Linked DNA regions of Homo sapiens: regions 1, 2, 3, 4, 6 and 7 are each linked to region 5. Evidence: promoter capture Hi-C in 16 types of primary human blood cells and fetal thymus (Javierre and others, 2016). All regions are on one chromosome and are shown on one strand. Each heading gives the region's core, a stretch centred on a gene start or on the middle of the fragment in contact. The rest is flanking DNA. Distances are from core to core; before and after follow the strand shown. Region 1 overlaps GALNT3 (polypeptide N-acetylgalactosaminyltransferase 3). Region 2 holds the start of SCN1A (sodium voltage-gated channel alpha subunit 1). Region 3 overlaps TTC21B (tetratricopeptide repeat domain 21B). Region 4 has its middle 20 kb from the start of GALNT3. Region 5 holds the start of SCN2A (sodium voltage-gated channel alpha subunit 2). Region 6 overlaps COBLL1 (cordon-bleu WH2 repeat protein like 1). Region 7 holds the start of GALNT3 (polypeptide N-acetylgalactosaminyltransferase 3).

The links. The method cuts DNA at HindIII sites, captures the fragments that hold promoters and counts their contacts. A CHiCAGO score of 5 or more calls a contact.
Region 1: a contact is called between a fragment that was not itself captured here and the fragment with the promoter of SCN2A in region 5, in 1 of 17 cell types (megakaryocytes). The highest score is 5.3, in megakaryocytes.
Region 2: a contact is called between a fragment that was not itself captured here and the fragment with the promoter of SCN2A in region 5, in 4 of 17 cell types (naive B cells, total B cells, fetal thymus and 1 more). The highest score is 7.6, in naive B cells.
Region 3: a fragment that was not itself captured here is called in contact with the fragment with the promoter of SCN2A in region 5 in 1 of 17 cell types (megakaryocytes); the score reaches 6.4 in megakaryocytes.
Region 4: a fragment that was not itself captured here is called in contact with the fragment with the promoter of SCN2A in region 5 in 1 of 17 cell types (megakaryocytes); the score reaches 6.0 in megakaryocytes.
Region 6: a contact is called between a fragment that was not itself captured here and the fragment with the promoter of SCN2A in region 5, in 1 of 17 cell types (total B cells). The highest score is 5.3, in total B cells.
Region 7: a contact is called between the fragment with the promoter of GALNT3 here and the fragment with the promoter of SCN2A in region 5, in 5 of 17 cell types (megakaryocytes, M2 macrophages, erythroblasts and 2 more). The highest score is 10.6, in megakaryocytes.

What each region holds. Positions count from the first base shown.
Region 1 is chr2:165,755,392-165,758,940 of GRCh38, forward strand. It overlaps GALNT3 (polypeptide N-acetylgalactosaminyltransferase 3), which reads right to left. Exons shown (of 11, transcript NM_004482.4): 6 at 3,356-3,473; 7 at 1,656-1,856. Among named protein-coding and RNA genes, the nearest start is that of GALNT3, 37 kb to the right of the region's middle. The HindIII fragment of the contact is 2,994 bases long and covers 585-3,549 here.
Region 2 is chr2:166,127,641-166,130,791 of GRCh38, forward strand. It overlaps SCN1A (sodium voltage-gated channel alpha subunit 1), which reads right to left and starts at 380. Exons shown (of 29, transcript NM_001165963.4): 1 at 131-380. The region is part of intron 2 of SCN1A-AS1 (SCN1A and SCN9A antisense RNA 1); the gene reads left to right. The HindIII fragment of the contact is 448 bases long and covers 1,092-1,539 here.
Region 3 is chr2:165,888,686-165,891,821 of GRCh38, forward strand. It overlaps TTC21B (tetratricopeptide repeat domain 21B), which reads right to left. Exons shown (of 29, transcript NM_024753.5): 23 at 2,153-2,303; 24 at 1,794-1,955. Among named protein-coding and RNA genes, the nearest start is that of TTC21B-AS1, 44 kb to the right of the region's middle. The HindIII fragment of the contact is 1,398 bases long and covers 688-2,085 here.
Region 4 is chr2:165,813,047-165,816,446 of GRCh38, forward strand. No RefSeq gene overlaps it. Among named protein-coding and RNA genes, the nearest start is that of GALNT3, 20 kb to the left of the region's middle. The HindIII fragment of the contact is 576 bases long and covers 1,128-1,703 here.
Region 5 is chr2:165,237,689-165,240,992 of GRCh38, forward strand. It overlaps SCN2A (sodium voltage-gated channel alpha subunit 2), which reads left to right and starts at 1,726. Exons shown (of 27, transcript NM_001040142.2): 1 at 1,726-1,952. The HindIII fragment of the contact is 782 bases long and covers 1,432-2,213 here.
Region 6 is chr2:164,713,776-164,716,917 of GRCh38, forward strand. The region is part of intron 7 of COBLL1 (cordon-bleu WH2 repeat protein like 1); the gene reads right to left. Among named protein-coding and RNA genes, the nearest start is that of SNORA70F, 28 kb to the left of the region's middle. The HindIII fragment of the contact is 3,074 bases long and covers 1-2,866 here.
Region 7 is chr2:165,792,158-165,795,515 of GRCh38, forward strand. GALNT3 (polypeptide N-acetylgalactosaminyltransferase 3) reads right to left here and starts at 2,090. Exons shown (of 11, transcript NM_004482.4): 1 at 1,858-2,090. It overlaps LOC124906086, which reads left to right and starts at 1,429. Exons shown (of 6, transcript XM_047446887.1): 1 at 1,429-1,635; 2 at 1,762-2,180; 3 at 2,643-2,922. The coding sequence starts at 1,429. RefSeq lists enhancers at 840-1,746, 1,747-2,652 and silencers at 1,723-1,812, 1,883-2,032. The HindIII fragment of the contact is 5,078 bases long and covers 1,025-3,358 here.

The DNA.
Region 1 (3,549 bases), core at 832-3,331, 520 kb after region 5:
CCAAAATTGGTCCCAACTTTATACCTAAAAATGATCTGCAAAGTGAGGTGTCAGAAATCAGGTATAGACAAACAGTGCCAATACACAATGCAACTTCTATCTCTTCTCCATCAAGATCACAGAAAACCACCAGCAAGAAATAACCCACTGGGAGTAATTTTTCTAGTTTCAGGATGTTGCTTGTTCTTAACAATATCCCCAACTGAACCTTTAGTAGAAAAAGGCAATTTTCAAGTTAAATGAATTTTGCTTTCCTTCATTTTAACGTACTAAGAAAATAACTTTTTTAAAAAACCATTATTAAACTTCAAGGTATTTGACCTACAGGCAAAATATTAGAGAAAAAGTACATGTAATATCTAAATGTATGCAAAAGTAAATACTCAATCTTATCAGTTCAACTAAAGAAAATATTTTCTTATGCCAACTTTGATGTCTTGAACCCAGGCGTTTTAGCAAAAAGTATGAGTCTTTAGGACTTCTGGCTAGCTTATTACATTTACCATGTAGATCTATGTGTCCTGTGGTAACCAACAGGTATTTGCTGATTTATGTGCCCCTTTGTGGGGGACAAGCAGAGCATAAGCTTCATTTAGTGCCCACTTGCCTGCTTAGCCAAGTACTATTGTACAGTACACAATCTGCCCAATTTGTCTTCATGGCCTTGGGTAAAAAGATAGCAATCTAACTCAGTAGTGCTCTTAATTTGCATCCTAACAGGGAGATACTGGAGACCAGAGAAAAAGGGAAAGAGGTAACCAAATCGTTCTTCACCGCAACAGCCAAAATATTGATACCCTTGACTCCCAATAAATACTCCACCTTCCCTCACCCTGCAAATTAGCACTATCTATTTCCTACAAAGAGATGAGTACTATACACTGAAGCATGGTCTTAAACTATCTAGTTAATTTACCTTATCTAATATTATTAAGACTATTGGAACTCACTTCTAATATATTAGGTTTCATGATTCTGCAGAGCAGAATCTATTTATGGCAGGTTAATAACAAGAGTACCATATATTTGTTAGCACTTATCACTTTCTTATTTCACAGCTACTCTGGGAGAGAGACAGCATGCGTATTTCATCTCTTAAAACAGGGAAGGAGAGAAAAGAAATATGTTAAGCATGCACTCCATGTCCAGCCACCTTGCAGCCACTCTATGAAGTGTCTTCCCTATTTTACATTCTCAAAGGCTTTGCCAAAGTAACATCTCCAGTAAGTAGTGAAACTAGAGCTTGAAAAAAAAAGGCTTGGCACTCCTGGTTTATTCTCATGCCACATTAAGACACTGTCTCTATCTCCAGTGCAAAAAGTCACTTAGAACCTTTATTTAGGTGTTATATCTCCTAAAACCAGTAAAAACAGTTCTACTTAATTTTCTTCGAGTAAAATATTGAACCAGGGCAGCAACAAAAATGAACTATCTTTCATATTAAAAACATCAAGTAGAATTCCTGATTTTTAAAAAGCAGTTTACTTAGTTTTTTTCTTAAAAAAGGAAACTTGGATTCATAAGTCATGTACTTTAAGAGTTAAAAACCTACTTTCAAATTTTTTGATGTTTTGTACTTGAGATGAATCGACGCAAAAGGACGTGTGAACTTGTTATAGATTTTATTGCAATTTAACTACTTAGCTTTAACTTACTTGTTTAACAATTTTTGCTGCATCTGTATTTCTCCTATAAAATATTTCCTTGTATTCATCCATCCAGACTTCTGCAAGGCGAACTTGGTTTCTAGCAATCACCTGAGTGCCTTTTGGAAAGCTATGAGGGCTTTTGCTGCGAAAAACATGTCCAACAACAGAGCAAGGCATAATCTCCAACTGCCCACCACATTGCCATACCTGATAATTAATGATATTTGTTTAAATTTACAGTATTTTAGAAAAATCAAAGTGTTGCTTTTAAGTTCACCTTTAAGGTATTATGAAAAACAAAATTAGAGAAGAGATTACAATATTACAAATAGTCTCTGTCCCCTGCCATTTCAACTTAAGTTCTTAAGTGTAAGGAATTATTTTATTAAATGGCATAGACACTAAAGACAACAGAAGTGCATTTTCAGTAAGTTAACAAAATGGTGATTTCAGATTTTTCATAAAAATGAATTCCAGGCTTTTGTTTTTGCAAATAATTATGTAAGTTCTCTAATATGCACAGAAAACTAAAGGCTCTTATGCATTTGACTTCTGTCTGAACTACTGACATAGTCACTTCACTTAAACTAGAGTTTCTCTTCAAAGTTTGGATATAAGTGGACTCAGACCCTATTTATCTCTTGTATATTCAATTTTGTAACCAAGAAAACAATTCCAGATGGCTATTATTACCAATGATCATTCTACTGAACTTGCAAAGTAGAGGATGATTATTTAAAAATTCATGCCAATTTAGAGAGAAAACGTCAAAAAAAATCCTTATTGGCATTAATGCTAAATAAAATGGCAAATCATGAAATCAATGCCTTTTCACTTAAATATCTTAATAATTGACTCTGCCATAGTTACCAAGCAAAGAATCAGAAAATAAGTCATATTTAATACTATGTGCTTGTAGTAGAGCAAGTGATTACAAATCTCTTTCTCTCCTTTCTTTCTTGAACAAATGAGAAGACTCAGTGATATGTTCAATTCAACAAACTGTGCTTGTGACCCAACACGTGCTAGGGGTTGGAAATACTGAAATGAATAAACAAGACCCCGCCATAAGCAGTTCAAACTTGGCTAAGATCATCACTGCCAGTATGTGATGGAGCCAGAGCCAAAACTTAAATCTTCTAACTCCTAGTTCAGTTCTTTTTCCACTACATTCCAGCCTAAGAGATGAAAAATGAATGATAAAGTTACTGCAGAAAATGAAACTCATGAAATCAAATACATAAGGTACATACGGAGTCTACCCAAAGCCTTTTTTTATATTAACTTATAATATGTATAGAAAAAATCAAGCTCATTCATTCCAAACAGTTAAGTCCAATGTCCTTTAAAATTATTCATAAATGTTTTTCCATTCTAACTCCCTTGATGATCAACTCATTTCCTGAAGCACTAGATTTAATTATATTTATCTTGGCTGGAATTCAGTAGCTACAAGTGCATTAATTGGTGTTACTGCCTGGACACAGGAGTTTAACTGATTCCTCTTGTTACACTGGCGACAATGAATAAATATATTAAGTTACATATTAAAAGAAAATATTCTTATTCCAAAATTTCCAGCAATTAAGTTTCAGAAAGCACAAAAAGTAGAGTGCACACATCTGTAATCATATGTACCAGCCGATTAGAACACAATATATTTCATTGTTTAATATATCTGCTATATTTAATTTCCATAAACTTACTCTGAAAGACATTTCTATATTTTCACCTCCCCAGATTTCCATTTCTTCATCATAGCTTCCAATATACTCAAAATATTCTTTTGATATGGAAAAAAGTCCTCCTGCAAAAGTGGGTGTTCTGAAAAATAATCCATTGTCAAATTTTGTTATAAAAACTAAACAAGATAAAACAGCATATTTTAAGAACTGAAGTT
Region 2 (3,151 bases), core at 66-2,565, 890 kb after region 5:
GTTGGTCTGAATACACATACAAAAATGGACTTCCTGCTCTGCCCAAACTGAATTTCCATGGACTCTTTTTCCAAAGGAATAACTGGAATGAATAAACTTAAAATCAAGATGAAACAATTAGATGGCTTACCTGATTAAAAGGAAAATTATCCATCTGCAGTGAGGAACAGCATCACCCAAAGACGAGATGATAACAATGTGCCTTCAGTTGCAATTGTTCAGATTCCTTCTTGCAAAAGGTGTCAAAGTATTTACAAGGGCTGCAGTCTCACTGGGGCAGAACACACAGACACACAAACACACACAAACGCACACATACACACATGCACCAGAGACCTCTGCAGTATCCTCTCGGCTTCATCCTCGCCTCACTCTATGGTACCTAATACAAATCAGCAAATAGCTTGTTTCAAAAAAAAAAAAAAAAAGTCAAGACAGCACCTTACATTACATCGCCATCTAGTGGCTAAATATTAAACACTTTCTCACAATCCAGATTTATGATTTCTTCCTCAACCTCTTTTCTCTCAGCCTTTTTTCCTTTCTTCTCTGTAATCTCCCAGTATTGCTTCTCCTTGCTTCTCTTTCATTCCCTATTGCTATATAATATCATGAACCTAATGACTCAAAGAGGAAAAGGTTTGAAAGTAAATATAGCTATTTTCAAGTAGTACTTGAAAAACTTTAGCATTATTTTAGTTTGAAACTGTTACTTTATTCCTAATATGAATCATTGTTATCTATAAAAATGATATATCTTATAAATAAAACTGTCTTTTTATTCCACCAGGAAACAATCAGGTGGCCCTTTATTACAGATCTATGGCTTCACATTTTTCTGTTTTAATATTGTGTTTTAGGATTAGGTTTCATATTATAGTGAACAGCTCAGAGTCACAAAATGTGAGTTTTACTTCAACACTGATGAACACATGCCTTTAACAAAGCCACTGAAGTCTTCTATGGACATTTACATTCTTACTATCTTCATCTGTAATTACAGATTAAACAAGACTTTCAACCCACTCTCAATTTCTATGGTTTTACTATATTTTACTCCAATGTTTTCCCATCTTGTGGACACAGCCTAAAGCTTAATTATAATAACACATTTTAATAAGCAAATATATATAGAAAGAGAGTCCAATTGCCTATTACCCAAAGATAGAATTATAAAAACCATGAATATCAGTTTTTTCTAAGACAATAAAAATCCATGCCAAACTAATTATAACTCTTGGAACTGAGAGTAGAGCTTTTTATGTTATATATTGTATTCTAAAATGGAATCAGCCTTAAACATTCAGTCATACATAAAATCACGATTATGTGTAGATTAGTCATTGGAAGTAAATATTTCATCCTCATTATTTTTCTTTTGCCATCTAACACACTTATTACAATCATTGCATGTGTTTTATCATTTATCAATATAACCTTCAATATTTAATCCTTCTCTTCCTTATTACAGGATGGTGAGATAAATACTATTAATGTTATTATATTATAATTATTCCTATTTATACTTGAGAACACTGAAGCTTTCTGAGCCTTACTGAGGTTTATTCAAGACCACATAGCTTGCAAAGCAATAAAACTAAGGCTGTTGGTCCCAAGAGCCCAAAGAATAATCCACTGTTCTTTGCAACATACCTAAAAGTTCACCATTTTTTCCTGTTCTAGAATCACAGAAAAGTAATTTTGATTTCTATGTTTACAAAACATTTACTAGCCCTTAATTATGGACCAATGGGTCCATCTTGTGGATCCATCTTTTTATCTATAAAAGAAAGAAATTAAGTAAGATAATTTCCTGTTCCAGCTCAAAAACTCTATCCAGTGCTTTCCCAAAAGCCAGTTGGAGTAGCATGAACACATTCATTTGAAGTTACTCAATGTCTGGGAAATGATGTTGCCCAGTATCTGGTAGAGTCAGGGCAAAGTTGAAAGAAGATGAGGAGACAGGTGATCAACAACTGGTAAACGATTGCCAAGATGTTAGAGATGAAAAGAGAGTGGGAACTGCATGAACTAACAGGCAATTTTTTTAGAATAATACATTCCATATGAATAGTACTTAGAGATTAGATATGTAAAAACACAAAATAAGAACATACCTGGCCACATGTTTTAATGAATTCTAATTGCATATTATAGGTGCCAATTTTTCTGAGTGTCTGCTCTTAACAATTCCCCCAATAGTTCTTCTCCCCTGATCCTTAGTGGTAAACCTACCCTCTTGCTACAGAGGACTGGAGCAAGAGAGGGTATCTACGCAGCTGACCTGGTCAAAGAGAGCCACTACATGTGATTCTGGCAGCTATGGAGTCAGCTTTCCCTCACCATGGGGACTCAGGACCAGGTGGACCAGGATACTGAAATAGCAGCCAGCCACACAGATGTGGAGGAAGAAGTGACAAAAGACAGAGACAGACTGTTTCCATCTCCAGTCTACTCAAGATCCAAACACTTTCTTGATGTTGAGTCCCATGATAAACTCAAACTCCATGTTTGCTTAAGTGAACTTGGTTTCTGTTGAACTATGGAGTCCTAACCACTTCATTAGCTTCAAGAAAGTTGCCAGTACTGCATCTATCAAGTATTATTCATATTCTGGGCATCTGACACTTCATTTATTCACTTCTTCATGCACCTGATATATGCCAGGCACTTTTCCAGATACTTAAGTAACATCGGCAAACAAACCAGATCAAAACCCTCCCTTTGTGGAGTTTACATTGACATGTCAGTCATATGGAAAGGCACAACGCATTCAGTGTGCACACTACCTTTCTTCCGCCTCCATGTCTTTGTTCACAACCTTCACTTCTCTTGGCAGACCTTTCATCCATCTACACATAGCAAATTCGGCGGATATTTTAAATGTCTGGGTCAAATATTCTCTCTTCTCCAACGTCTTTTCTATTTTCTCAGCAGATAGAATTCTTTTTTCTTTTGTTAATTATAGAACAATTTTATGTTGTATCTTATGAAACATGGTCATTTGACAAGTTGAAAGCATTGAGCATAAGGAGATAAATGACTATTCTCATACAGACTCCTAGAAAAGGCCAATATCCCAAGCATGGCCCAAAGAGTACTATTAACTAACAACTCATCATTCTGTACACAGATACTTCATTCGTCAGAG
Region 3 (3,136 bases), core at 137-2,636, 650 kb after region 5:
GGACTCAATAAAACACCATTAAGCATTAATTTCCTCTAGAATGAAGACAAAAGTTGGATAATATCTACATGTTGTAAATGTGTGCATTCCAGCAAATATAAAACTATAAGTAGAATCAGAAAATTAACATATATCTATTCAAAAAGTGAAAGGAAAGGAAAAAAGTGACAAATACTGTATTATTTCATTCTATGTTTAATCCATTTTACACACAGGAAAACTGAGGCTTGAACAGGTAAAGTAATTTTCTAAAGGTCACACAGCTAGTAAGTGGTAAACCTAGGACCTGAATCTAAGCTTATCAGACATATAAAATCTACTCTGTTCTCTTCACCACATTGCCTATCAGACTCTCAGAAATTATATATGTGTCAAACAGTAATTTCAAGTGCAATTTGAATATTTAATAGCAATTTTCTTATTTTATACACACAAACCCATGCACATAAATATACATAAATCAATTAATAAAAGGAAATTAAACACTCAAAGTCCAATCACTAAAGCCACTGGTCTTCTTCTCAGGCCTTAGGCTTATCTTGCCTAAACATGTCACGCTGTTGACTACCACTTCAAAGTTCTTCTCCCTTGGCTTCTGTAACACTACACAGCTTTAGTTCTCTTTTCACCATGCTGATTGCCCTTTTCTGACCTTCCTTCCTCCTCCAGACCCCTTAAATGTTAGCAAGCTTAACATTTAGTTCTCAGATTTTTGTTACTTCATTCTACCACTCACAAAGAGACCATTCATGGAGTTCCAACTATGCACTCTGCAGATGTCTCCCAAATCTCTATCCCTAGCTGTGACCTCTCTTTCTGAGTTTTAGTTTTGTATTTTGAATTGCCTGAAGAAGATTTCCACTTGAATAGCTTATAGTTCCATAACAGTAATGTTACCTCAACCTTCCTAAAACAACCATAAACATGCCACTTCCCTGCTCTAACTGGTCTCGGTAATCCAAGCGTTAAAATCTGTTGTTGAAATCTCTTGGCAATCTACCACTAATTTTCTCCAGCTCCTCCATGCATCTTCTCCTGAATACTATGCACTGCTATGATTCCTAATAAACTCTGACAATACTTAATATCTATTTAAATCCATTTATATTTAGTTGCAGATTGAAAGGTTTCAGGTATTGTCTTGCCTCTTAATTAAACACTCCTGAAGACAGAAACTACCTCTTATATTCCCTTTATGTCCTAATACATTCCCCACAAGCCTTGCCTGAGTCAGAAGAGAGGACAAGCTACTAATGCAGGTTGATAAATAACCATTGACTAGCAGTATACCACACTAACAGCAGTCAGGACTCAGTCTAAATCTTGCCTCCATCATTACTATCACATTAAACAAGTTGACTCAGCTTATTCTGCAATACTGTTATAGAAAACAAATGAGATAGTGTGTAGAAAGTATAGAGGACAGGGTCTGGAAAATAACTACCATTTGTTAAGTAGTTACTATTATTGTGTGGATAATTTTTGCTACAGTTGTCAAATTCTACAATTAGGGGAGTGTCTTCATAGCATGTCTATTATTATTTAGGAAACCTAAAAGCATTTCATGCCTGTTTCACAGAATAGTTACATTAGCAATAACTATTCTATTGAATAACTATTCAATTTGCTAAAATAACTATTCTCTGAAACAGGCAATGAAATGCCTATTTATTTAATTTATTCATCTGACCTTTCATTATTGCTATCCTAAATTTAGTTCTTTTGTATAGTATCCCTGTTTATTATCTCCAACAAGTGTTTTTTAAAAAAGGATAATATGTCAAATAACTCACCCCAGGTCTCCATCCAGGTTTTCAAATACTTCACCTCCAACAGTTTCATTATCTGGATTCAAACAGATCTCTATCATATTATAAAGGGCATTTTGGCCCCAGTCACGATCTTTCCGAGCTTTATTAAAATGTCGAAGGGCATCATTTGGTTCTCCAGTGTACCTTGTTAGATGTTTAAAAGAATTATTTATTTCAATCACTGACTACAAAATTTATATTAGTTTATAATCTGTCTGGTAAATAAAACTGTTGAATTATTTTGAAATGTACATTTTTTTTTACTACAAAGAAAAGCTTATTCTACTTGATTTACAATGAGAAAAAAAAATCATGTAGCATTTATTTGTAAATAGATTTACCAAAGATACAGTCCTTTACAATACTGAAATCCTGGTTCCAATTTTGCTCTGGAGTTACGTTTCTCAGCCATTGAGAAAAATCTTGGGACATCCTCGAGTTTTCCACATCTTCTTAGGAGATCAATCAAACGAGATAATGTCATATAATTATCTAGAAACAAATAATACTTCAGATATGGGCACCATTTTATACTGTTTCTTTTGTTGGTTATAATTCTACTTCATTAGAGTATAATTTACTTCATATAAAGTACATTTTAAATATAAATAAAAAATGCCTCAGGGTATAATTCCCTATAGAGGCTGTATGGCCAACTAGATGATCTACTAAATAATACAGTTTGGGCTAGGCTGGTCACAGTGTCTACATAGGCAAATCTAGAAAAATGCATATTTCTTGTAGCTTTTCTATTGTTTGGGGGACCAAAACCTTAGAGAAACAGCCCCTACCTAGGTAATCTAGACTTTCAACTGTGAAGTTCAGGAATACCGATTTAATTGCACAGGACAAGTTCACTGTCGGTCTCTGAGAACCCCTCTCCTACATACTGTTGCTAGGAAGGGTGTGGGAACAGTACAATTGACAAATAATGTATGGGATGGACAATAAGAAATTTTTCTCCAGTCTCTCTTTGATATGTACATGTAGCTAACATACCATATGCTAGCTTACCATACTAGAACCTTAGCATATTAGTCCCCATATTTTAATCCTGTTTCACCTTCTTCTAAAAAAAATTCATTCATTCATTCATTCATTCATTCATTCATTCATTCATTCCTTTGATCTCAGGTATAATTTCCTGGCAGGTTCCTAGAAAGCCTTCTTCCAATTCTATCTAGTTCTCTCTTATCAGTAACAAACTAAGCTTTGAGAATAATTTAATAAATCTTTTTTAGGATTGCAAAAATAATGTATAGACACTACAGAAAATAAGGAAAATATATATAAAAAGTATGAAGAAAAAAAAAATCACCATATTT
Region 4 (3,400 bases), core at 166-2,665, 580 kb after region 5:
CAGGGCCAGGAGCAAGACAACCCAGAGAACAGCCGTAAATATCTGGAATAACAGTGCAATGTACCACATAGTTATTGAGTCAAATCCTTTTCCAAGTCATATCCCTCCTTCCCCATTGCCTTTTCTCTTTACCAGCTCTACAAATGTTAGGAATCCTTAGCCATGTTTTCTTCGAGCTGTCTTTCTTCTAGTCTAATTGGCTCCAATTCCTCCACTGACCTGTTCCCTGTATCTAGTGGTCTTATCTGACATTCTCTTGAGCCTTTTCAGCTGTCTCAAGTCAACTGGTGAGAGAATTGTTGGTCTATTCTCCAAAGGAAGTGGTCCCTTGACATACTTTCCTTTAGGATGATGGGTTTGGCGATGTGGCTGAGCCTTCTAGACAAAAAAAGCTTTCCTTAAACAATATCTCAACTAATCAGTCTCCAAATATTTTAGTAGCTTAAATCTTTAGGCTTTTCACAAATGCCCAGACACTTTGCCTGTTATATATTAGAATGTAGAGATGTTTGAGCACTTCCAGAGGGCAAATGTCACATCCCTGACTATACTTTAGGTAACTTAGCAATATATATACATGGTTGTATTGACAAAACTCCTCAAGCCTACTATTTTTTCATAGGACTGGCTCAGAATGTGGACTTTGGAAATAACCAGTCTTGGATCAAACCCTGATTCCACTCAGTACTACCTATACGACCTTTGACAAGTTAATTAATCCTGAGCTCTTATTTCCTCATCTAATGAGATACAGACAATAAGAGTTATCTTTCTCATGTGGCTGTTGAGAGGATTAAATGACAACAGTGGGGCTCAATCAGTGTCTTCTTTTGTTACCATACTGGGGTCCTAGCACTCAGAGCTATTTCTGGTCTTACTCAAGGACCAGGTCCTCTAGCATCCCTGGGTTTACCATGGTTATGCATAGCTCCCTCCTCTCTCCCAGGTGTCCTTCTCTCCTCCTGAAATGTTTCAGCCTCAAGTCAGCATCATCCGAGCTTGACCAGTATCTCTCAAGGTGTTGTCCAAGAACAAGCTGCACTGGAATCACCTGGAGGCCCACGTGGCTCCATTTCAGACTAACTGACAGAGTTAGAAGATGAAACTAGTAAATCTGTATTTTAACAAGCTTCCCCCAGCTAGAGGTGCCAGATAAATTATAGGACATCCAGTTAAATTTGAATTTCAGATAAACAATGAACAATTTTCAGTATAAGTATGTCTGTCCCATGCAATATTTGGAACATACTTATACTAAAAAAAAATTTATTATTTATCTGAAATTCAAATTAAATGGAGTATCCTGTACTTTTAATTGCTAAATCTGGCAAACAAATCTCAGGGATTCCAATTCTTACTAAATTTGAAGACCACTGGTTTAAGATATTTGGCAAAAATCTCAAATTCAACTTCATGAGCTTCCAAGGAGGGAGGGAGGGAAAGAACGAAGGAAGGAAGGAAGGAAACGAAAGGAAAGGGAAGGGAAGGAAGGAAGGAAGGAAGGAAATGAAAGGAAAGGGAAGGGAAGGGAAGGGAGGGAAGGGAGGGAAGGAAGGGAAGGGAGGGAAGGGAAGGAAGGGAAGGAAGGGAAGGAAGGGAAGGAAGGGAAGGAAGGGAAGGAGAGAAGGAGGGAGGAAGGAGAAGAGAGGAAAGAAAGAAAGGAAGAAAGAGACAAAGAGAGGAAAGAAAAGCAAAGCAAGCGAAGCTTATAGACGGAACACAGATGGCCCATGCATCCACAAAACAAATATGCACAAGACCAAGTAGGTTAGCATTTGTTTCAGCAGCCACAGTGGCAAACATAGACAATCCAGCAGCCAGAGAAAAATCCACTTCCTTGTTTCTCTAGTTTGGAATTGGGCTTTAGGTGTCTCTGTCTCCTTCTGCTGCTTTCTCCTTTTTTTTTTTTTTTTTTTTTTTTTTTTTTGTCTAAACATCTCCATGCTATGCTAGCCAACACCTACTCATCCTCATTTGGTATTTCCTCTTTTGCTTTTTTGCTTTCCTACAAAGCATCTTGGGCCCATCCTCCTCTGTCTGCCCCAAACATCAGAATACCTAATCAAATAGTCATATAGCCATCTTTCTCCCTCTAATATTAAGTGTGGACTCCCTCAATTTTAGTTTTCTGATGGGATTTTCCTAATTCTCAAACCATTCTGTCTTATGTGTACTAGAGTAATGCATTGTGTTTTTGGTTCGTGTACATTTACAGAGGCCTTAAAAGAGACATTAGCTGATTTTTCACAATAACCCCATAATCGAGGCAGATGAAAAACGGAGCCCTTTTATTCCTAGGCCAAGACCCTTCTTACTCAGCCATTGTCTCATCTCAGGTTATTATACTCACATCATTCATTTGTCATTTTAGAATAGTGATTAAAGCACAGCTGTGTGCCTTGGTTAGTTTTATTTTTTTCTTAACCAATCTAAGCTTCCATTTCCTCATTTGTAAACTTAGGTTAACAATAGTGCCTACATCATGAGCACTGGGTTTAGTCAGATGATCAAAGTCTTAGCACTGTGACTGCAAATTGTAAGCACTCAAAATATTAGCCATTATTAAAACTATCTTGTGGGCCAATTCTTTTCCAGGCCCAGCTTTTCTCTTGTTGTCTTTCAGCAAATAGAGATATAAAATGGAAAACTTAGACTAAAACCAGCAGAACAAGAAGTATCAATGGCTGCACAAGGAAGTAATGCAGACCTATGCTAAATTTTCTCTTGGTAAACACTTCCTTTTTCATACCCCTCTCCCTTGAACTTTTTCACCTCCACTCCTACAATTTTATGTTATGCAGAGTCAAAAATATAATCATCCTAAACTAGGCTCAGCAGTGTGGACAGTAACTGATTGAAATATGAGGTTCTTTAATTAGAAGCAGGAACTAGAGTATAGTACTAAGAATAATGGTAATATAATTATTTGCATCTTGTCTAACTTCCTCATTTACACTGGCCTTCTTCATTTCTATCTCATTCCCTGATAAATATGGTATCTCAAAGCCAAATGTTTGGGACTCCAATATTATCATTGTGTTCACCTTCTTTACCCATTAGGGCCTTTATATGATAATAAGTGTAATATGATATCCCCAATGAATGAGATAGAGTGGCCCATACAGGAGCGACCTCAAAGCACTTTTTCTGTACTGCAGATGCAGTGCAAAATTAGGAATATTAGGAAAATTACGACTGCTTTCTTCAGAAAATACTCAGGGCAATATTGTTGTGGATAATGGGAAATAACTGGTGGTTTTTGAACAAGGAAAGTGAATGTCGGTTATAGTATTGAATAGAATAGTGTTCTAGAAATAGACAATCTATGTAGACCAGTAAGTCTGAAGTCAGGGTCACTGTGCAGCAACAGAGGACATAATCTGAGAGGCTACCTTTTCAT
Region 5 (3,304 bases), core at 476-2,975:
GATTACTGTGTTAAGAAAAACATTTAAATTTTATATAAATTATTGTAAAATTCCCGTGATTTTAAAAATAAAGTATCAATAATATTTCATATTTGTGGCATCTTAGGCTTTAATCTTACAGGTTTAAGCTTCTTGGCCATCAGGAGTAATTTGTTGAAATTGCAAATTAATTTGGCAAAATTATCATAATTATGTGCCCTGAGAGCTTATGTATCTTATGATAGTGCAGGAAACTTGTGAGATGAAATAGTTGAGTGTATACATTAAAATAATTTGATCTACCAAGTCACTTTAATTATTTATTTGTTCAGTGTTAAAAATATATTTTCATAACCAAACTAATACATCTTAATAATGTTGTAGAAATGGAAGTAAGGTAAAATTTAAGAAACTGGGTTTGTTCTTCTGACTTGCTTATTAATACTGGATAAGTTACTGAAGAGTGGGCTTTGGTTTCCTCGTCTATTTAATAGTGTGGGAACAACCTTATGTTAAAGCAATCTATTCAGTATAACTTTAGCACACAGAAAATAAAATATTATGAATCCAAAGAAAGTGTAGCTTGCAATCATGTATTTTATTAAATGTATTTATCAGCATTTTGGCTTCTGATGGACATGTGTATATACATATTTTGTGGATAAAAAAATTACTTAACTATTTTTATATTAGATACTATCAATTATTCTGGCTGATCTGGGGACTTTTAATGGTAAATTTTATATCAAATCTGACAAAGACAGTATTTCAGACCCGTTTAAGACCTAGAACTCACCATGAGTTCTAAAATTGGTTCTCAGCACCATGGACAGCGTTACTGCAATAGGAAATTAAAGATCGATTTGGCCCCAAATTAAAATGGTGTTGTAAAAAAGTGGGAGAAAAAAAATGCCTATCCTTTTACTTCAAATTTTAAAAAAATGATCCTGGCCTTCACAACTGTTCATAAGAAGAATAATTAATTAAACAAACATATATTGAGAACATCATATGCTCAGTAAAACTTTGATTCTATAAATGGTGTCATTTACCAAATGGATTCTTTTGACAATTTAATTTTCTCTTATCTCTCTAAGAAGATGTAACTACACACTATAGTATACTACTACAATTATCAAATTTCATGTTGCATGTAACTTGTCGTCTGTATTTTTGTAGTTAGATTAGATTAACTAAAGATTTTTCAAGTTTGCCTTTAAGTCATTTAATTTTCCTGCCTTATCTTTAACCTTTCAACATTCCTCCAAACAATAGCAACACAAGTGTTATGTGTTAACTTCTCTAGTGACAAAAACTTATACTTCTCCACAAAGAGATGTGATGTTCATTATCAATAAGCTTGACATCTAAAATTGTTTTATAGGAGATACATATTACTTTTTCAGATGGTATATAAAGTTAAATAAATCTTAAGTTTTCAATGATGGGAAAAGCTTCCATTTAGTTTAAACATAATGTAAAGAAATTTGAATCCCCAAAATAGAATTATAATTCTAAAAATTCATACTATAATTCTTCTTAAATGTTTAAATTACAGTTAATTAAAGTAGTTGATTTCAAATAGAGTGGAATTATGGGCTGTACATCATTTAATTTTATGTGCTGACTGCTACATAGCCAAAGGAACGTGAATTAAGATGGTTCCACTTTTGACCAGGAGATGGAGCTGTCATGTAAGATGCTGCCTTTATTTATTTATTTTTCTAATTTAGCATGCTGTTTTCTAACAGACATTGGGTACCATCGAATGACTGTCAGAACAGAAAGCTAAGGCAAAGGAGGGAGGATGCTGTGGTCATCCTTTCTTGTTTTTTTCTTCTTTAATGAGGATAGAGCACATGTGAGATTTTACTTTCTACTCCAGTAAAAATTCTGAAGAATTGCATTGGAGACTGTTATATTCAACACATACGTGGATTCTGTGTTATGATTTACATTTTTCTTTATTTCAGGTAAGCCAGCATGATTCTATTTTTGACTTATCCACGGATTGTTATCTATGTTAAGAATGACATTTAATATAAGATGTGTGCTTTGTTAGCTTGTATTCAGATCTAAGAGATTCAAAAGCTCTAATTCTAGCTGTTGTGCAATTTAAAATCTTCCTAGGCTGAAATGAGCTCTGACTATGACATACCGTGTTTTATTATTTCTTTGGCTTTCTAGCTGTTGGTCTCTGTCTCTGGCTGTATTTGTTTACCTTTTAAAGGTAAAGCTTTCAAAGTGAAGGATGGGTTTTCCTTTCACAAGGGAAATACTGCTCCTTAATGCAGTGAACAAATTGTAGAGATATAATGAAGCAGATTAACATGGCAGTGGCTCTGCCAAAGCTCAGGGCTGAGCCTTCTGATTGCAGCCTCAGAGGCAAGCCAATATTCTGAGTCCAAAGGCCTTTTGAACGATTTCTGCTGGCTATGATGGTACAGATTGTTTATGTCTTTATTTTTACCTCTTAGAAATAATACGTAAGTCATTTCTCCCACATGAATCAAGATTTATGTAATGTGTTTAATAGACTTGGAATGAGACTATAGACCCTCCCTCCTCCCCCAGTATGGATGTGAGGAGTATGCTGAACACAAATTAATTGCCATGAAAATTGATTTTTTCTGTATTTTATTGGATTTGGGATAATAGAACCGTGGCCATTTTAAATAGTTGATATTATAGAAGGTGCTCACATTTTAAATTATTTTAGGTCATGTGACATTATCTGTGTTAAAGAGTGGAATGACTCAGGAGGTGGAAGTTGCATGCAACAGCCTTGCTTCTCTCTGCTGCTTCTCGTGATTTCCCTTAAATCCTTGCTTGATTATTATTAGAATAACAGGAATAAAGACATATAGAAATCCTATATTTAAAAACCACTGATTTTCATTTAGAGAAATTTAAAGAGATTTTACAAATATTTTAAAAATAGTTTTGTAAGATTGTTTTTAAATGCCTCACTTCTTTCTCCTGTGGAAAGAGCTGTGTGTGTGTGTGTGTGTGTGTGTGTGTGTGTGTGATGGTGGAGGTGGCAGGCGGTGGAGGTGCATCAGGATGTTTTTATCTCAGTCATTGTTTTCCTGTAAAGAGGTAGTTTTGCCATGTCAGAGGTTGTGAAAGCTATGGGGAATGATTTTATAAAATGGTTTGGACAAACCATGAAAAAAACATGTTTTTTAAATGTGTGGAATCTATAGAGTTTGTAGTTCTACATGGCTCCATATACATGGAGATTTTTAGAATTACAGATATTTAACCATTTATCCCCATTATCATTTAAAGAAAAGCAATTGTAATTGAGAGATAAGGTGGATTT
Region 6 (3,142 bases), core at 80-2,579, 520 kb before region 5:
CAATGTTTTATTTTGTTATTGTACTTTAAGTTTCTGAAATCCTCAGAGGAGTAATGCCAGGATTAGACACCGTCATCTCGTTAACGTTGATCAAACCAAAACAAGCACGTTCATCTGTTAGAGGCCAATTTTAAAAAATAGCAAAATAGCATAATTTTGTAATACTAGAGTTGGAAGAGACTTTGGGAAATTTAATTACACAATCTTATTCTACAGAGGAGAAAACTAAGTCATAGAGAAGTTCAGCAAAGGTGAAGGAAAAAAAATGACAACGGCAAAGAAGAAGATAATAGACCTATTAGTAGAATTCAGGAGTCTCTCTCTCAGGCCAGGTCAGGACTTCTTCTTTCCAGCCCTTGTCTAGGCACAATAGAAAGAAACACACACACACACACACACACACACATTAAAAAATCCCATGTTATTCCCCTGTAAGTTTTTTCCATTTGTCTTCCTGAGGCAATCCGTGCTTTCATCAACCCTATGATACTCTGATAAAGTATATAAACTAAGTCTTACTCATGATAATCCTCTGCATACAGCATTTAGTAAAAGCCCAATGATGAGGGTCTAGCTCAATGGTACATCTTGGATGAAAAAAAAAAAAAAAAAAACCAGGATGAACCACCAGAAAGCAGAGCTCAGGATCAAGTTTAAAAGACAGGGAATGGTGGTAACCATGATTCCCTGTGATCACAGTGATGAGGATAGAGGTGTTTTTAGCCACAGGGTAGGAGAATGTGAATAATCTAGAAGTTAACCGAGTTTAGGACCTATACCAGAGTGAAGCTACAGTCAATCAAACAAACTGGGGCCAACTCAGTTCATCCAGAAAGGCAATTAAGGCTGGGAGCAGGCTTATCCCAGGGACACCTTAAGGTTATCACTGTGGCTCCAGAAAAGAGGCCTGCTTCTATCTGCCCTGGCCTCTGTTAACACATGCTGGTTACCAGAGAAATGCAAATCTTCCCATGAGGTCACAAACATCACAGAGATAGAGAGGCTAAGTAAACTTCATACTGGTAAAGTAAGCCTCCTAACAGTAATTATTTTCAATACTATTTTATTAACTCAGCATGTTATTTTAGAGAGGTACGACTTTTTACATACTAATAGACAAGAATGAGAAATCCATATTAATTCCACAAATGACCTACTGCTCTTTGAATAATATATTTTTCCTTAAAGTTTAACAACTTATTAATTCCTCATAATTCATAGTTCTTTTAGGCTAAAACTGTCAGAAACCTAAAATGTAATGGCCCAGAGGGTTGTCATAAGGATTAAATAAGTAATGTTCTTAGAGCCTTGTCTGAAACATTAGTAAGCATTATATAAGCATTCACCATTGCTTTTGTTATTGTGATTATGACCCTTTGAAAATCTGATGAAAACTACAGTGGCAAAGTATGTATTATATCTAGGAAAGCCTTAAAAAGGGGAGCAGATTAAATATTATACTGTGTTGGTACATTTCTCTACTGAATGAAACCAGTCATATTTTTGGAAGTATAGACAGCTGTATTCTGTACAGCAAACTGCAAATGCCATGGTAACCACTGTTCCTAGGCAATTGTAGAATTATGCATGGTGGTCCACTTTCTATATAATAAATATAAGAGGAAAATGGAGGGGAAAATAAAATATAACAACCTGTGTAAAAATCTAAAAAGGGGGATGTTTCTTAAACATTGCAAATACATACTCTATTACAACAGAGGGTACAACCTTACATACTCTATGTAAAATAACTAGGATTAAAATTAAGTAAAATAGCAAAATATGTACCTGTACATTTCATAAGTATATGACAATACATCATCTTATCTGCTTATAAACCATGATATATATTAGAATATAAAATTGCATAAAAGATGAATAATGTAAAACATTTAAAAAATTAAGTCAGTTATTTTAAAACTAACACTCTAGGTATTAAATTTCACTTGCATAATACTAGATGGCAAAGAGTTTCCGTTTCTCAATAGTTGAGTGTTTGTCTGAAGCAGGATGCAAAATGAGATAAAATAAAATGCCCAGTGAAGATCATTTCTTACAGTGTTTCCAGCCACAATGTAATATCCCAGAGAAAATGATGTGCCATCCCCGTAGCCAGGAGAAAAATTGATTGCTGTTGTATATCCATCATTCCAAGCAGCAGTCACACCAAATGTGCCAAATGAAAAATTCTCCAAAAGGTTCTGTGAATTCTATGGGTCAAGATTACCAAATACTTTTCCCTGACTCTTCTTCCACTTATTCAAATGTAAAATCAGCTTATGAGGCTAATTTGTCAATAAGACCAGAACATCCTTTGGCCATTGATTTTATTAAATGTGCTCTTCATAAACTCTTGGTCAGCAGATACGGTGCAGAAACTAGATTTCTGAACTTAGATTTATCTGAGAATTCTAAGTCACTTTCAATTTAAGTCAATGTAATCGAATTTCTGACTTCCCATTTCACAAATGACAATCTTATCGTAAATAACTGTGTACATTTTATATAAGAATATATGTTATATGGTTCATATAAATAAAGCATGATCTATTATATGTCTTGTTGCACAAATGGCATTTCAAATCATCAGGAAAAATCATATTTAAAAAATGCTCAAAAACTACCAAGAAATACTGCCAGAAAATTTCTAATGGGAAAGTTTTCTTTTCAAATGAACATTTTCATAGAAGATGATATATTCACCTTCATAGGAAAAATGACATGAGACTTGAAATAATGTGAAAGAGGGTACATAGAAATTTAGGGATTTGAAAGGATACTGCAGCAATAATAGTAAAATATGTGTTCTTCAAAATGTATTCTTTAGATGGAAAAAATAATTTTAGATGCAGAAATATTCTAAGAAAGCTTGGGTTAAATCATTTGCTAACTTGGATCTTTGCTATCTCGGCTAACTTTGAATAGTCTTTGGAAACTGCACAGTTAGTTTGTCAAAATTAGCTCAGCAAATCAACAGCCTTTTATGTGAGCATTTTCAGTATAAGCTCTAAAAAAACACCATCCATATACTTTAATTTGCTAATATTGAGAAATATCTTAGAAGAATGAGGCAAATTATTAAATATAGACAGCCAAAAAATATAAAATAAATGTGGTTGACAAAATTTTTCCTAAGCTACAG
Region 7 (3,358 bases), core at 840-3,339, 550 kb after region 5:
CTCGAGAATGCTAGGGCTGGAAGATACTCCTGATTGTTTTTAAGGTTTTGTTATCTTAATCTAGGAAAGTATTATTTTTCCTATTTAACAGATAGATTAAGTTACACTGTTACTCTAGCTAATGAAAACATGTTACATTTCTCACTAGAGGTTAAGAGGAAAGACAGTCTGGTAACATCTGCCTAGTAAGTAATGAAGACTAATATTCAAAATTCAGGGAACAACTCCTATATCTCATATTTAAACAGTATTTAGCACATTTGTTTCTCTGTATGGAGACAAGATTAAGAGGTCAGGTGAGATCCTTTTAAGAAATGTAGAAAAGTGGTGATTGAATTAATAATTACATCATGTTATGCTGTGGTTGGCTTTTAGATTTCCATCTAATCTTAAAAAGAAGAAGAAAAATAACCCCACTACATGTTGCATCAGGCATTTTAAGTAAAACGTGCAATTTAAAAAATATTTTTAAAATGTGTGGAGATAGAACAAAACAATGGAATTGTTATTATTATCAGAAACTTCTACGTAAAAATGTTGGTTAAAGCAATATATAAAGATTGATTCTCGGTACAAATTGCTTGGAAAGTTTAACATGTGCACTAGATTTCAGATATTAAAAGTTAAATTAAAAAAAAGAATCTAATGGCAGCGTGTGACTTTAACCTCATGGATTTTAGCCACAAACGCAAAGAAAAATATATACAATAAAAGAAGCAACAGATTTTCCCACAAGCAGAGATTTTCTAATTAAAATGCTGTCACTTTAATATTTTTTAGCTATAGAATTTGACTGTAAATGTCTTCATTATGTAGTGTAACTTCTATAGCAAGTTATGTTAACGTTTTCAAGAATCGGAAATATTGGTAACTCGATGGGGTTCTTAAAACAGAAATAGTTTCTTTGATGAGTTGGAAAGAGAAGGAAATAAAAGTCTAAGGTAAGCGCCAGTTTCACCCTCAATTCTTAGGCTTCAGAAAAGCCTAATTAGGCAGGGAAAGGAATCTGGGCCTGGCACACCCAAGCTTAGACGTGGCAGGATCCTGAAACAATGTTTTTTTGAACCTTTGAGTCATATGCCACAGGCAAACCATAGCCGCGATATGCAGGTCCTTAAGTCAACAGGTCCTCTAACGAGATGGTGAGTGGTTGGTGCGTGGCAGTTGGATTTCTTCCCGCCACGGAAGAAAAGAACTCTTCTCCATTGATCAGGAAAGTGGGCCCAACTCTGGCCTGGAGAGCGCACCCGGAAAAGTGCAGAGTCGAAACAGAGAGAGAGGGGTGTCCGCGTCCCGGCCACAGAGCCCTTTCCAAACCACTCGGAAACCATTTAAATGGCTCGGCGGCCGCGGTTTGCAGCCTAGAACTGTTTGGGGTCCCCGGCTAGGAAAGTTGCCTGGCAAAGCCATGTCTTTCGCTGTCGCGGGATGTCCTCTCGGGCAGAGAGGCTGGAGGAGACAGGCAACCTGCTAGCCGGAGTGGAAGCGCGCCCGCCTCCCGCCGGGCCCTCCCTCTCAGGGTCCCCACGCTGCGACCCTCCCAAGGGCAAGTCCGGGGCCACCAGGTCTTTGGTCTCCGTCCAGCTCCTCAGGGGCCGCCCCATAGGGACTGGCGGGGGCACCGTGGGCGAGAGGGTGTGACCGGGCTCCCCCCCGAGGCGCCACCTGCCCCTTGGCCCAGGGCGCCCCTTTCGGGATCTCTCCAGGGGCAACCGACACACTGCTCTCGAGACCGTCTCCAACCGGCCACCTGGACCGTAGCCCTGTCCCCAACACGTGAACCCCTGCGGCCGTCCTCCCGCCTGCTCTAACGCAGCCCAGGGGTACCGCGTCTCCCTCCGCCTGCCGCCGGCTTACCTGGCGGGTGGGCAGGGCAGGGTGGCGGGAAGCGGCGGCCGGGCAGGCGCTGGACGTGGGCTAGGCGCCAGGTGCAGGTGGCGGCGGCTGCGACTCCGGTTGCTGTCGCCACAGTTGCGGCTCAGTAGAGCTCCTCCTCCGCCGCCGCCTCCTGCCTTCCCGCTGGGCCTCCCGCGTTGCCTGGAGAGGCAGAACCGAGGCTCGGCTTCCACTTGGAGTCTCCCAGGTGAGCTCCAGCCTGCGACGTCGGCAGGGGCGAGGCCCCACTTCCGCGCCTGCGCGCCAGCCTCCCGCCCCGCCCCAGCCCTACCTGAGCGCTCCAGGTGAGAACCTTGGATCGCGCGCGCAGGGTGGGGGCGCCGTCCGGGCCAAGCCTGGCTGTCGCGCGGCTTCTCTCTGAGTGGTCGGCGAGGCTGCTGCTCCGCGCAAGTTGTGGCTCCCGGCCCATCTACATTGGAGGAATCCTGCACTGACCTGGTGGCAGTGATCACCTTGTAGCCAGAACACAGTCTGCTGGGTCCTTGGGGAACCAGAAGTTCTAGATTTCCCCCACACGGTTCCTCCCTTCCTCCTCGGTTCGCCAAAATGAAGGGGTGCGCTGCCTCCGAGGACCACTTCGGGAGGGCAGCAACTGCTGGCTCATGTGGTTTCTTCGGGCAGGGTTCAGCAGCTTCTGTCACCAGTTAGGTTTCGTGAGCTTCCTTCCCGTGTAGTCTTGATTTCATCACTTGACTCACTTCAGCGCAGCTAGTGGTTTCCGTTTCTGTACGCGGGCGCTCTGGTAGGGGCGCCTCACGTCCAAAGGAGGAGTCTTCTTCCAAAGAAGAGCCTTTGGTATTTGGCAGAGCCTCGCCAATTTGGGGCGCACCTCCCCTTCCTGGGATGCTCTCAGAAGGCAAACCAATTCCCAGAAGAGAGGGAAAAACAGCCACAACAGAGAGAACCTTTGCTGTCCCTGTTTGGAAAGAGATTGGGATTTCCTGGAGAGGGCTTGCTTCTACTGCAGGTTTGTTTAAAAGCTCAACATCTATTCTGGAAGAGAACAACGCAGACTCCAGGAAGATGGTGGGTTTTGCTGTTTTTAAGACAAAAAAAAATTGTTAAACAGTATTTGTTCCATTTATGACACAACTTTCTGTTTCAGCCTTCCTTCTGCTGCTGCAACAAACATTGACACACCCAAAACCAGGACTTAAAATGGCCTTTATACCTTTCTATGAACTCATTTCTTTGGCCCTATCCCAAAGATATCTAGGGATATAAATAGAAAACTAGCTAAAAACTTTTTGGTGTCGTGTTTAATCACATGGTGGTAGGTTTTACTATGAAGTTTAGTTGTGGCCTTCCTCCTACATTTTGACATGCTCTTATGGTGCTTATTCACTGTTTTATTAGTGCTATGCGTGACCTAAAAATAAGGTTTAAAATACAGTTTAGTATAGTATCAACAAGTGTATCTTTAGTATTTGACTACTCTAAGACATTGGTTTTAGCATCCATA